Regions from separate parts of the Homo sapiens genome. Here all the other regions are linked to region 1. The links are contacts of gene promoters, found by promoter capture Hi-C in human tissues and cell types (Jung and others, 2019). All regions are on one chromosome and are shown on one strand. Each heading gives the region's core, a stretch centred on a gene start or on the middle of the fragment in contact. The rest is flanking DNA. Distances are from core to core; before and after follow the strand shown.

Evidence for each region. The method cuts DNA at HindIII sites, captures the fragments that hold promoters and counts their contacts. A contact is called where the count stands out against the background at its distance.
Region 2: the fragment with the promoter of MAP1LC3B here is called in contact with the fragment with the promoter of SLC7A5 in region 1 in 2 of the 25 tissues and cell types used here (lymphoblastoid cells and small bowel).
Region 3: a contact is called between a fragment that was not itself captured here and the fragment with the promoter of SLC7A5 in region 1, in 1 of the 25 tissues and cell types used here (dorsolateral prefrontal cortex).
Region 4: a contact is called between a fragment that was not itself captured here and the fragment with the promoter of SLC7A5 in region 1, in 1 of the 25 tissues and cell types used here (dorsolateral prefrontal cortex).
Region 5: a fragment that was not itself captured here is called in contact with the fragment with the promoter of SLC7A5 in region 1 in 1 of the 25 tissues and cell types used here (dorsolateral prefrontal cortex).

What each region holds. Positions count from the first base shown.
Region 1 is chr16:87,868,199-87,870,788 of GRCh38, forward strand. It overlaps SLC7A5 (solute carrier family 7 member 5), which reads right to left and starts at 1,309. Exons shown (of 10, transcript NM_003486.7): 1 at 687-1,309. The coding sequence starts at 1,224. RefSeq lists a silencer at 1,273-1,622 and enhancers at 1,863-2,590, 2,067-2,590. The HindIII fragment of the contact is 6,482 bases long and covers 1-2,590 here.
Region 2 is chr16:87,391,020-87,393,609 of GRCh38, forward strand. MAP1LC3B (microtubule associated protein 1 light chain 3 beta) reads left to right here and starts at 1,317. Exons shown (of 4, transcript NM_022818.5): 1 at 1,317-1,448. The coding sequence starts at 1,409. It also overlaps a transcript of FBXO31 not described here. RefSeq lists enhancers at 275-1,233, 2,450-2,499 and silencers at 750-1,399, 1,420-1,589, 1,700-1,829. The HindIII fragment of the contact is 8,903 bases long and covers 1-2,590 here.
Region 3 is chr16:87,408,042-87,410,631 of GRCh38, forward strand. ZCCHC14 (zinc finger CCHC-type containing 14) reads right to left here. Exons shown (of 13, transcript NM_015144.3): 13 at 1-2,294. The coding sequence ends at 2,239. Among named protein-coding and RNA genes, the nearest start is that of MAP1LC3B, 17 kb to the left of the region's middle. RefSeq lists enhancers at 1-340, 1-100. The HindIII fragment of the contact is 7,604 bases long and covers 1-2,590 here.
Region 4 is chr16:87,538,195-87,540,784 of GRCh38, forward strand. It overlaps LOC124903748 (a long non-coding RNA gene), which reads left to right and starts at 708. Exons shown (of 2, transcript XR_007065170.1): 1 at 708-1,157. RefSeq lists a silencer at 1,795-2,026. The HindIII fragment of the contact is 3,179 bases long and covers 1-2,590 here.
Region 5 is chr16:87,572,285-87,574,874 of GRCh38, forward strand. No RefSeq gene overlaps it. Among named protein-coding and RNA genes, the nearest start is that of JPH3, 29 kb to the right of the region's middle. RefSeq lists an enhancer at 1-51. The HindIII fragment of the contact is 3,496 bases long and covers 1-2,590 here.

The DNA of each region.
Region 1 (2,590 bases), core at 59-2,558:
AGCACCATGCCCACCAAAACAGGAGCCCCATGGCTGTTTCCCAGAGAAACCTGGGACCCGCACGTCCATTCACTGCAACACAGACTGAATCTGCAGCCAAGCTCCGCTCTCTCACTACTGGGAACCCTCAGGGGGGATCCCTTAGCCTAAATCAGCACCAGTCACTACCCGCACACGATGTTATTACTACTGTTTTCTTATGAGTCAGCCCGTGTCACTGATTCCTGACGAGCTGGTGTGGAGAGCAGAAATGAATGATTTTTTTTTTAACTGCAATTTCCTTCTCACCAACCAGTCAGCAATCGGAGCTCTAACAGTAAACCGATTGCTCAGTTACTCCACGTGGGTGCCACGCAAGAGGCTGGGAGTATTGCTCAGCGGGGCCAACGGGAGGGTGGCACTTGCCTAAACCGCTTAAGTGGGGGAATGGAATGCCCACCGAAGGGCAGGGCAGGGACCCTGCTGTCCCGTCACTGAAGATATTCCCAGCCTGTGGGGAGAAGTGTAAAAGAATGAATGAAAGAAACGCACGTGGTTTCTGGGACCAATGACCTTAGCCTAGAACTGCCGGGATGGTCCAGGAACGTAAAGATGTAGAGATGTGGGAGCCAGGGGCGTAGTGATGCAAGGATGCAGGGACCCAGAGACTACGACCTCCCAACCCCCGGCCCGCGCCCCGTACTCACGCACGCAGAGGCAGGCCACGAGCTTGGCTGCCTCCTCGGGCACCGGGCAGGTGGGGAAGAGCGGCTTGAGCAGGTAGGTGGCGAAGACCAGGGCCACGATGTACTGCGATGAAGGCCGGATGATGAGCAGCTCGATCCAGAGCTTGAGGAAGGCGGGCAGCGAGCCGTAGACCTCCAGCATGTAGGCGTAGTCGCCGCCCGATTTGGAGATGGTGGTGCCGAGCTCCGCGTAGCAGAGCGCGCCCACGATGGAGAAGACGCCGCACGCGGCCCACACCACCAGCGCCAGCCCCGGCGAGCCTGCCTCCTTGAGCACGCCCGTGGGCGTCACGAAGATGCCCGAGCCGATAATGGTCCCCACGATGATGGCCACGCCGTTGAGCAGCGTGATGTTCCGCTGCAGGGTCACGCCCTCGCCCTCGCCTGCCGGCGCCGAGCCGTCCGCGCTCTTGGCGGCCAGCATCTTCTCCCGCGCCTCTTCCTTCTCCTCGGCCGCCGGCGCCGCTAGCGCGCGCCGCTTCGGGCCCGCACCCGCCATGCTCTGCGCACCGGCCGGGCCTGGGACACCCGGGAGCCGCGGCCCAGCGAGCAGTGTGCGCGCCGCCCGCCGCCCGCAGCTGCGTCAGGAACCCCGCCCGCGCCGCCTTTTAGGCCCCGGCCCGCCGGCCCCGCCCACCGTCCGCGGCTCCTCCCCGCCCCGTGGCCCGGCCCCGTCCCTCAGCCCCGCCCCCTCGGCCCAGCTCGGAGCACGTGCGTCGTCCGGCCCAGCCTGGCGGGCTATTCCCAGGCCCGCGTGGTCCTCGAAGGCCCCAGTCCTCCTGCGCCATGGAGACCCCGGCCTCGCGACCTCCCCCCTCCCGGCGCCCGCGTCATCCCAGCCCGTCCTCCCGGATGCGCCTGGGCGGGGCCTGGCAGTCAGGGCGCGCCCCTTCACCCACTGGCCCGCAGCCTCTCGTCAAGCCTGGGAGCGGGCAGTGCACCAGGGCTGGCCTGAGGCCAAGGATGGAGTTTGGGGTACCCCCCGAAGGGAACCTAGGCTCCTGTCCCGGATGGGCCGAGGGGATGGAACCGCCCCCACAACCAGCTCCTGGGGCACGGGGGAGGGATGAGAGGATGACCTGAGGGGAAGCTCCTGCAGCCTCCTTCCAGCCTGGGGGCTGCATCAGTGGGGCTGGTGAGCCGCGAACTGGGACGAGGGAAGAACCGAACCGAGGCCACCCAGTAATTCCCATTGTATCCCAAAAGAATCTTGCCAAAGACGGCGATCCGGTGCCCGTAGCTTTGAGAAGCAGTAATAACACAGGCTTTGGGAAGCCAGCAATCTGCCTGAGCTCAATTTAATCAACAGAACCGGGGGTTCGCTGGGAGCCATAAGACCCCCACCCCCAAATCTACCTGGGGAATTCAAAGGCAGGCTTCAGTGTGAAGGGGCTTTAAAGCTTGTTATTCCTAGGGAATGCGAGAGGCATCTTAGCTAAAAAGGGTTGAGAGGTAATTTCAGTTAGAGGCGAGAGCAGGATGCCAAGGCTCCTAGGCCTGGAAATGGGAAGGAATATAAATACTGCCCCGAGATTGACCAGACTGGTGAGCGGCCAAAGACCTGTTCAAAGGGTGTGTGTGGGTCAGGGAGGAAGCTCCTCAGTATCACCCCACCCCGGGGTTCCTTGGCGTGTGTGCAAACGAGTCCTTGGAAGCTCACAGCAGGCATGTGGGGAGGCCTTTGTTCTGGGTGAGCGTTCAGCCTCCCAGGGCAAACACGCAAACACCGGTTGCAGAGCTGGGTGTTCACAGCAAGACAGTCTGCTGGGCAGATGCCTCTGGAATCCACAGAATTCTGAACAATAGCCGTGGTGGAGGGGGGTCAGAATCCCTGTCGTGCTGGGACCTCTAGCTGCAGCCAGGAA
Region 2 (2,590 bases), core at 67-2,566, 480 kb before region 1:
ATGGGGCTCTTTCAAAGTATTAGATGTTAAAGAACAAAAACAGCCAAATAGCCGGGAGCAGTGGCTCACGCCTGTAATCCCAACTCTTAAGGAGGCCGAGGCGGGAGGGTTGCTTGAGGCCAGGAGTTCAAGACCAGCCCGGGCAACACAGCGAGATCCCGGCTCTACTCCCAGCTTCTCGGGAGGCTGAGGCAGGAGGATCCCTTGAGCCCAGGCGACCGAGGCCGCCGCGAGCTATGATCGTGCCACTGCATTCCAGGCTGGGCAACAGAGCAAGACCCTGTCTCAAAAAAACCCCAAAGAATCTAGTGCTGTTCCTACAGAGACACATTGGCCACAGGCTGAGGTGGGCAATAGCAACCAAATATCGCATGGTGGTTTACGCACTGCAGCCCATTTGGAGTCCTCAAATATGACTGCCCTTTCACAGATGAGTCTGAGACTCAAAAACTGTCACTAGCGTAAGGTTGTCCAGCGAGTTTAGTGGCTGGGAGGCTGAGGGGTAGACAGGGCGGCTAGCGATGTGGGGCAGGCCTGGCAGTCGCCACAGACGACCTAACGGTAGGAAAATCTTACAGCCACCAGGAGAGTTCCAGGCGCCGCGGCAGGGGGACTGGGAGAGGGGACTGCGCCCAGAATGAAGGCTCGGGACAAAAGCAGTTGCGCAAACGCGCCAAGGCTGGGCGTCGAGTGACCGCGGGCGGAGGTCACCAGCGGCCACTCCCCGGAAGCCACCCACGGACCACGCGCGCCCCTGCACGCAGAGGGGGCCAGGGCTCCACGGGCGAGCGGCGACCCTGCCTCCCGGAGACGGCGCGGCCTGCCCTGCGCGCCTCAGCCCCGGGTGCCGGCGTCTCGGGCAGCACCACCAAGTCTCTCTGGAGGGGAAAGGATGGTCGGATTTGCCCCATGTCCCTTCCTCTGACCCCTCCCTCAAGAGTGCCCCGGGACACCCCGCCTGTGGCTCAGCCTCCCCCGCCCCGCGCTGCCATCTCCTCAGGGCCGGGCAGCAGGCTCCCGAGCGCCCACAGACCCGGGGTGCGGCCCAGCCCACAACCGTCACCTCAGGGGCCTCAGGCGCCCAGCGGTGCTGGGCGGGGCTGGGGCACGACCGGGAGCATGCGCAGAGCGCGCGTTTCGCCCATCGCGCACGCGCACACACCTGCTCCGCCCCCACGCTGCGTGCCGCTGCTGGGTTCCGCCACGCCCGTCATGGCGGCGGCCCCGGCCGGCTCTGGCCCCGCCCCTCGGTGACGCGTCGCGAGTCACCTGACCAGGCTGCGGGCTGAGGAGATACAAGGGAAGTGGCTATCGCCAGAGTCGGATTCGCCGCCGCAGCAGCCGCCGCCCCCGGGAGCCGCCGGGACCCTCGCGTCGTCGCCGCCGCCGCCGCCCAGATCCCTGCACCATGCCGTCGGAGAAGACCTTCAAGCAGCGCCGCACCTTCGGTGAGTGTCGCCGCGAGGGCGGCGGGTGCGGCGGGGCCGGGGTCCGAGCTGTGGAGGGCGGCAGGGCCTGGGACGCCGTGAGGGGTCGGGGCCGAGCCGGGAGGCCGAGCGGGGCCGGTGGCTGCCGGCCGGCGGGGCCGAGGGATGCGGGGCCCGGGGCCCCGTGAGGGACCCAGGCCGGGACCGAGCCGGGAGGGCCAGGGGCTGGTCTGGGCCGGGGCGGCCTGCGGACCTCTCGGAGGCCTGGGAGGAGGCAGCCGGCGGAGGGCGGGCGGGGGCCGGTGCGCTCGGGGCCCCGGGCCTGCTGAATCACCCCGCGCCCTCCGCGGCGGGGTGCCTGCCGTACCCCGGCCACCGCCGCCCCCGCAAGCGCGCTGCGGGCGAGGGTCGCGCTTCTGGGGCCCAACAGCCCCCGGGGCCGCGCTGGGCCGTTCGGCTCTGAAGCGGGGCTGCGCCGGGACCCAGCGCGTCACCTTCAGGGCTGGTTTTCCCGTCGAGGGAGCCCGCCCGGGTGCGAGTGCCTCTTACAGACCTCAGTGCCTCGGTCGAGAGGAGGGGAATGTGCTGGGCCCCGGCCTCGCCGCGCCCGGGACGGCCCACAGCGGTGTTGCCAGTTCCTGTCTGTAGCCCAGGAGCTGGGGTGGGAGACTTCTCTTGGGTTTGCGATTACGTTCTCACCTTGGCACCAGGAATACCGAATACATCCCTTTTCTGCCGGTTCAGACTGGAAACCCAGCTTAGGTGTGCTGGCATTTGGTTAAACGTGCAGGTGTCACCATCACAATATTTACTCCACGCAGATGATGCGAAGTGATTATTTCCCGCTTGAGCAAGAGAACGCCGCAGATCCAGGTATCTGTTGTTGCCTAAGTTCCAGACACCGGTTTGGAAGGGAAGCACCGTGTTCATCGCGGTGGACTGCGAATGCCTGCCGCCATCCTCGTCAGGAGCCCACACAGTGGTGCTGTTTGTCTGCTTTTGCCTAGTTTCCCGGAGTCTAGAAAGAGTTTAGCATTCATTTGAGTTTGGATATAGTTTTGCAGGTCTCATTGACCATTATTTTTTTTCTTATGCCTGAGAAACTTAAGCAAATTAAAATGGACCTTAGCTTGCCAAGCATATCTTTTCAGACAGCCTCTTGA
Region 3 (2,590 bases), core at 68-2,567, 460 kb before region 1:
GGGAACACAGCCGTGACAGTGTCGGAACTCATCTACCTCAACGCTGAATGGCAGGCTCCAAGTTGAAAAGTTTCTGTTTTAATGTTTTGCTGGATTTAAGGTTAACCTCTAATACTTATCAAAATAGTTACGTGGGTAACAACAGACGCTTTCATTCCCCTATACTGACCACTAAAACAAAAATTCCAATGTTTTTTCCTTTTGTTATGAGACGGTTTTCAACAATTTCAGTGTTGAAATAGGATTTATTTAAAATATTTCTTTGCTTAAAAAAACCAAAAAATTTAAAAGTTTGGCTTTCAGCACATATCCAGGCCACTGTAATGGCCTTCAGAAATATTAAAATCGTAAACATCAATGAACACTCTAAGTCTTCCTTAAACGTAATATGAGAAGGTCCAGTCTAGTACTCTTTAAGGCAAAGTTGTGTCAGTTCTCATTATTTTGACATTTTGTAGTGTTTACAATTTAAGAGATCAACGTAACATTCCCCTAAATAGCTGTTGTAATAAGCATCACCATTACTTCAACACTGTAATACTGTGTACCATGAGGAGAAGAGGTCTGTTAATTCTGCATTGCATAGAAATAAAATTCAACTAAAATAAAACTAAAAAATTCTACTAAAAGCCTGTCATAAAAAAAATGTAACAACTTTCTGCTTTAGTTTCTATGAAGTTAGGAACTGCTCTTCAAATTGAACGCTCACATCACAAGGCCTCATTCTAGGGTATTCTTCTGATTTACATCAATTTTTCATGAGGCTGATTGTCCCATTTTAAGAATAGTCTGAATATTATAATTTTTTTTAAAATAAATATCCAACTGCAAAATCCCAACTGCAAGATTTTACCAATCAGTATTTTAACATTGAAGACTTTAGCATTTTCGATAAGAGTATTATTTGAGCAGAAAATTCCCTTTAACCTTGAAGATTTAAGTCCGTAAATTTCAGACAAAAGGCTTTCATTTCCGTGGGTTGAAATTTAGAGATCTACAGTGAGGACTTTTATTACTACCTAACCAAAACCAGACTTGCACAGATCTCGCAGCTCTCGGGTGTGTGGCCTCTTCCAGAGTCCTACCACTTCCCACTGTTTTCCAAGTAATTTTTAACGGAATTAACTATCAATACACAGCCTAATACAAAAGAAGTTGACAGGAGAAAATTCCCAATCTTTTGCTGATAAATGACAGGACTGTATCATTGTTGAAATGTCTGTCTCAGGTGTGAATCCGCTAGCGATAAGCCTCGGGGTTGGAGGTTCTTGGGGAGCCCGTGGGAGATAAAGCAACTTGCAAACTCTGCTGAGGACGTGCAGCATCCTCACAGCCACTCACAGAGCCGCGCTGTCGCCGTCCCCCCTCGAGAGGTCATTTGTAGTGGAAGATAGGGCTCAAAGCCACTGACTGGCTGGGAAGAAAGATACTCTCAAAGCTTTGACGACTATGGATTCTCTGGGACTTGGACCCTTAGAAATTAAGTTGTTGCGAGTAAACTATTTCTATTTAATAACGTAGTTTAGATTTATTTGCAGAAAAAAATTAAAAACCTGAAACTGCTACAAGTGCTTGGAGGAGGGAAGGAAATACTAAAACCTCTGTTGCGTCCTAAGTCGAGTAGCCTCTGCTGGTGCTGACTCTTTCAATATGGATTATTGGAGTCTCTTGCACTGACTGTTCTCAGAGGAGTTTGGCTCCCAGAACCGCAGAGATTTACATCAGGGTACATTCTTCTGTAGTGCAATCCTTAAAAATCCCAGAGATTAGTGCTAATCACTTTAGGAACAGAACAAAACAAAGTCGACATTTTCCCTAGCCCAGGGGTGTCAGGAGTCCGGCGGGTGGAACTCCACTTGGAGAACTCCAAGCTCGGTTCTCGATTCAGACCACGTGTAGCTGCCCTGGAATTGACGTGTGAGCCTAGGAGGGCCAGTGATGGCAATGCTCTTCGGGAGACATGGCGTCTCTGCACTGCAACCAAAAGTGGAGGTGGCCGATCTCACCAGCCACAGAGATGCCCACTAGGCGAGTTCTGACACCAAGCTCCAATCTAGGGTTTTGGCAATAAATCGAGTTTGATGCACTTCTACGCTAGATTTTCTATCCAGTCTAGGAAAAGTAAAGCACCTTTGGATTAAAAAGATTAAGCTCAACAGCAACTAGACTTCTCAGTTTTGTATTTAATTTTCCTTATGTCTCCATGGCTTAATAACGTTCTGTTGCCAGAGAAAAATATCAATCTGTGGAGTCCAGACTTTCTGCTGGAGGGGCGTATTTCAACCTAAAAGTACCTAGAGAGAGGGGAAAAAAGAGGTCAAATTTGAATGACTGTAGAATCACCACCAACCACCAATCTGTCCAGTCATGTCCAGAGCCACTGGGCAAGATTCTGGTGCTGGAAATCTAGGCCACCCATCCTGACCGTTTCTACTCCCTTCCTGCCCCTGCAAAATGGGACCTAATTTTACAAGTTTATCAAATCTGACCGGGGTGAAATGACTCAGGAAAAGTTCACCATCTTTTTCTTTGGGAGCTTCCTCTGGGAGTCAGGCTCTGCACACGTCAGGCGGGCTGCTCTAACATGCGT
Region 4 (2,590 bases), core at 41-2,540, 330 kb before region 1:
ACCCTGTTTCAAAATAGATATGTATTTTTGATGTCAAAGAAACTGTTTTCATCAACTGTGGGAAAAACCCTGAGACTCACTTATAACCGCTGACCTCAAACACCCCCAAGTCTAAATTGTTTCCATCTCCCTGAATCCAAAACTCCAGCTGACGAGCACTGAGTGTTTATGTGAACATGGCCACATCCAAATGACCAGGCAGCCCTATAGCTCCTCACAGTCAAGTTCCTGTACGGTTTCCTCAAGATGCAAAAACATTTTGAAGTATGAGATTCGAGCTTCATACCCTGCCCAAGCCTTCTGTTTAAAGGTGGAATGCATTCCCTGCTTTTTTTCTTTTTAAATCTGCCCCCTTCTTGGTTTCTAATGACATTTGACATTTGACGTTCACCACTGCTGTGAGTTCTCCTCCGCCACTGTCAACACAGCCATGCCCAGCTACTAACGCAGAGACAGCAATGCTCCAGGCCAGAGCATATGTTGGAGACCTACATTCATTTCATAAATGTGAGCAACACAGTTTCCCATTCCTTTTGACTCATTTTTTCCTTCCTTTTCTCCACTTGCCAGTTGGGGTGGACTCCAGCGTGGCTGAGGGCAGACGCCGCCGCCCCTGAGAGCTGCTTCTGGTTCACGTGGCTTCTTAGAGAACCACAACTCCAGCCCTCCTCTCTGTAGGGGACACAAATTCACCGCTTGCCCTTTGTCCCCAGAAGATGTTTTCTAACAGCCCAAGGGCCGATCCGGAATCAGAGAAAAACACTCCGTGGGGGAGGCCAGAGGAATATTTAGTTTGTGTTTTATTAGCCCTTGCTGGGTCTCCAGATCTGAACCCCGGCGGGGCCTGTGTGCTCAGATCTTCCCACAGCGTACCCCTGAAGCCCAGCTCAGGCAGCCTGAGGATTAGAATAAATGAAAATCATTATCTGAGCTGTTTGGCACACGTGCGTGTGCAAGAGCCAGGGGCCATTTTCAAGGGAAAATGCCCGTTGCAGTTTCCTAAATCCTTTCTCATTTTTGACTTATTTGATCCTGGCAACAACTTGGTGAGATTGGTTTATCCGTGAGTCCATTTCACAGGCAGGAAAGTGGTGTCGCAGGGAGGCCGAGTGACTTGTCCACAGCCACGCAGCTGGGAAACGGGGAGACAGATTCAGGTGAGGACCTGCTGCCTCCGCGGTGCGGGGTACACCTTTCTCTCTCTTCCTCCTGCCTCCTTTCCTCTTCCTTCCTTCTTCTCCAAACTTCCACTCACCTATTTTTAAAACTCTTTTTGGAGATGGGGTCTGGCTATGTTGCCCAGGCTAGACCCAAGCCCCTGGGCTCAAGCAGTCCTCCCACCTCAGCTTCTTGAGTAGCTAGGATGACAGGTGCATGCTACCACACCTTGCTCAACTATTTTTAATTGAAAAATTAACATACACAAATGGTTAAACAACCACAACCAAACAGTACAGGAAAGGATGTCCTGAAAAGTAAGCTTCCTTCCACCCCAAATCTTCAGGGTCCCAGAGCCCCTTTTTCTAGCTATGTGTGTGCATATGTGCTCGTGCACACATATGTGTATGCACACTTAGGTGTGCATGTGTGATACATTACTCGGCCTCCTACACAGACAGTAGCAGCCCATGCGCTGGGTGCCTCTGGTTCTTCTTATTTCTCTCTCTGTCTCTTTTTTTTTTTTTTGTTTTTGAGACAGAGTCTTGTTCTGCCTTCCAGGCTGGAGTGCAGTGGCACAAGCTCGGCTCACTGCAAACCTCCACCTCCCGGGTTCAAGCAATTCTCGTGTCTCAGCCACCCAAGTAGCTGGGATTACAGGTGCCCATCACCACACCCAGCTAATTTTTGTATTTTTAGTAGAGACAGGGTTTTGTCACGTTGGCTGGGCTTGTCTCTAACTCCTGACCTCAGGTGATCTGCCCGCCTCAGCCTCCCAAAGTGCTGGAATTACAGGCGTGAGCTGCCACTTCCAGCCCTTCTTATTTCTCTTGAAAGCTGTTCTGTGTCCACATGGATGGAGCCACCACGCTTTTTGCTGACTGCACAAGAGCTCTCAGTGCATGGGGAGTAGGCTGTCCTTCTCCACTCCTCTCCACCAACAGGCATGAGGCTGCTCTCAGTCTCTGCTGTAATCAACGCATGGCGTGGGTCATGCCTTTGGCACATATATGCCTTTGTGCCCCTATGCCAGTGCCTCACTCAGGAAGAATCCTCGGAGGAGAACTGCTGCGCAAGAGGATTTGCCGTTGTCAGTGCCGGGGCTGTGGTTAAATTGCCTCCCCGTAGGCTGCACTTGCTCACACGCCTGCCCTCCCGGTGTCAGGGTCATGCCCCTCACTCCTAACGCCATGCAGCACGTAGCCATTCAGGGGCCCTTTGGGGGCCCCTCCCAGCGAGCTCACTCTAATCAGAGACAGCAAAGGTGTTGGATCTGCTTGATTTTCAAATGATTTACCCAGAAGCATCCACCCTCTCAGCCCCTAGTGTGGGGAATATGAGCCCTTCCCTGGAAACACTGCTAGAAAAAGAAAAAAAAAAAAAGGAAGAGAGAGAGAGGGCTCATTGAATAGGGCATCCCTAAAACGTGGAC
Region 5 (2,590 bases), core at 41-2,540, 300 kb before region 1:
ACCATGTTGGCCAGTCTGGTTTTGAACTCCTAACCTCAAGTGATCCGCCTGCCTCAGCCTCCCAAAGTGTTGGGATTATAAGCGTGAGCCACCGCACCCGGCCGATGCCTTCAGTTCTATATTTGTGCACCTTACACTCTGAGATCTCTCTCTCCAGCAGCTTCCTACCTGATTCATGAGGCCGTGATCCTCACAGGGCCTCCAGGCTTCTGGCCTTGCCCACGGCCTCCTACGAGCAATAACCACAACCCCACTGGGGCTCATGGACAGCGCACGGCCTGTAAGTAAGGCACAGGCAAGAGCACATGCAAACTTCACAGGGAGGCCTGGAAATGAGATTCTTGGAAGCTATGCTTTTCGAATAAGGAAACAAGCTCAGAGAGGCTGAGTGTCTCTCTGAGGTCCCACAGGTGCAGGTGCTGGAGCTGGGACTTAACCCGAAGTCCTGTTCCAGAGCTCTGCCCTCGCTCCTGTTACAGGTGTAGCCCCCTGGCATGGCCCTGCTGCCTGGGCTGGGGTCTGCCCAACGCTTCTGGTTCCCACCCACACTCCCCTCCCCAGGAAGATGCCCCTGAGAAGCTGGCCCACCTGGTTCTCTGCAGTCTCTGGCGCACCTGCCCCCTGACCTTCAGCCAGGTCCTGCCTCTAGGATGTTCACTCAGGTGAGAAAGCTGTCCAGAACCATGTGTATCTAGGACCAAACTTCATTGTACACACAAACATGCACTGCACAGTTTTACTCCATCTGTTACCAGGAATGCAAGGATTTTGCCGATGGAGGGGAGATTGCATTGTGTTCAGAACTTTGATTCAGAACAGAGCTTTTCACACTTTGGAAAACCACATCCCCAGTGGCCAAGTGGGGTAAGGTAGGTGAGTGCTCCAGGTGCTGCACTGGGGCTGGGTGCCGCCGTTTGCTGTCATGCCCACTGTGGGCCACCGTGGCAAGCAGATGACAGCCCTGTTCTCTCTTCCCCGGGGAGGCATGGAAACCCCATTATTTTATATTTATGTTTGTTCCTTTCTCATCAGCTGCGTATTACAGTTGGGGCATTATGTGGAGTTGAAGAAGGTGTTTTGTAGGTTTCCATGCATTTCATTTCAGGATAGCAATGGACATGTAAAGTTATTTGCTGTAAAGAAGGAGGTTGACCCCGTCTCTACTAAAAATATAAAAAATTAGCCGGGCGTGGTGGCGGGCGCCTGTAGTCCCAGCTACTTGGGAGGCTGAGGCAGGAGAATGTCGTGAACCCGGGAGGCGGAGCTTGCAGTGAGCCGAGATAGCGCCACTGCACTCCAGCCTGGGTGACAGAGCGAGACTCCATCTCAAAAAAAAAAAAAGAAGGAGGTTGATCTGTTGGGTTGAACACTACCAGCTGGGAGATGCACCCTTGGGGATGGACGAATGCTTTAAATTTTTTTTTTTTGCTCAGCCACTGCTTTTTTTTTTAAAAGCTTTATTGAGATATAATTAATATATTGAAATCTGGCCAGCTACAGTGACTCAGGCCTGTAATCCCAGCACTTTGAGAGGCCAAGGTGGGTGGATCACTTGAGATCAGGAGTTCAAGAACAGCCTGGCCAACATAGCGAAACCCTGTATCTACAAAAAAATACAAAAATTAGCCAGGCGCGATGGCACGCACCTGTGATCCCAGCTACTCAGGAGGTTGAGGCATGAGAATTGCTTGAGCCTGGGAAGTGGAGGTTGCAGTGAGCCAAGATCATGCCACTGCACTCCAGCCTGGGCAACAGAGCAAGACTCTGTCTTAAAAAAAAATCTGCACATATTTAATGCGTAATTTGATGAGTTTGGACATCGGCAAACAGCCGTGATACCAACACCATGATCAGGGAAATCAACACATCCGGCACCTCCAGAACACTCCCCATGTCCCCATTATTTGTGGTAAGAACATAGTGTGAGACCTGTCCTCAGTCTTTTTTTTTTTTTTTTGAGACAGTCTCGCTCTCTTGCCCAGGCTGGAGTGCAGTGGCGTGATCTTGGCTCACTGCAACCTCCGCAGGGTTCAAGTGATTCTCCTGCCTCACCCTCCTGAGTAGCTGGGATTACAGGTGCCTGCCACCATGCCTGGCTGATTTTTGCATTTTTAGTAGAGACAGGGATTCACCACGTTGGCCAGGTTGGTGTCGAACTCCTGATCTCAGGTGATCCGCCTGTCTTGGCCTCCCAAAGTGCTGGGATTACAGGTGTGAGCCACCATGCCCGACCTATTTTTTATTTTTATTTTATTTTATTTTGAGACAGTGTCTCACTCTGTCACACAGGCTGGAGTACAGTGGTGCATTCATAGCTCACTGCAGCCTCAAACTCCCAGGCTCAAGTGAATCCTCCCACCTCAGCCTCTCAAGTAGATGGGACCACAGGTGCGTGCCACTACACTGGGCTAATTCTTAATTTTTTTTGTAGAGATGGAGTCTCACTATGTTACTGTCTTGAACTCCTGGCTTCAAGCGATCCTCCCGCCTCTGCGTGAACTATGGCACCCAGCCCCCAGTGATGTTTTTATGTGATTTCTTAAAATTAGGATCCACATATTATCCACGCTGTGCATCTTGTGGTTCTGTT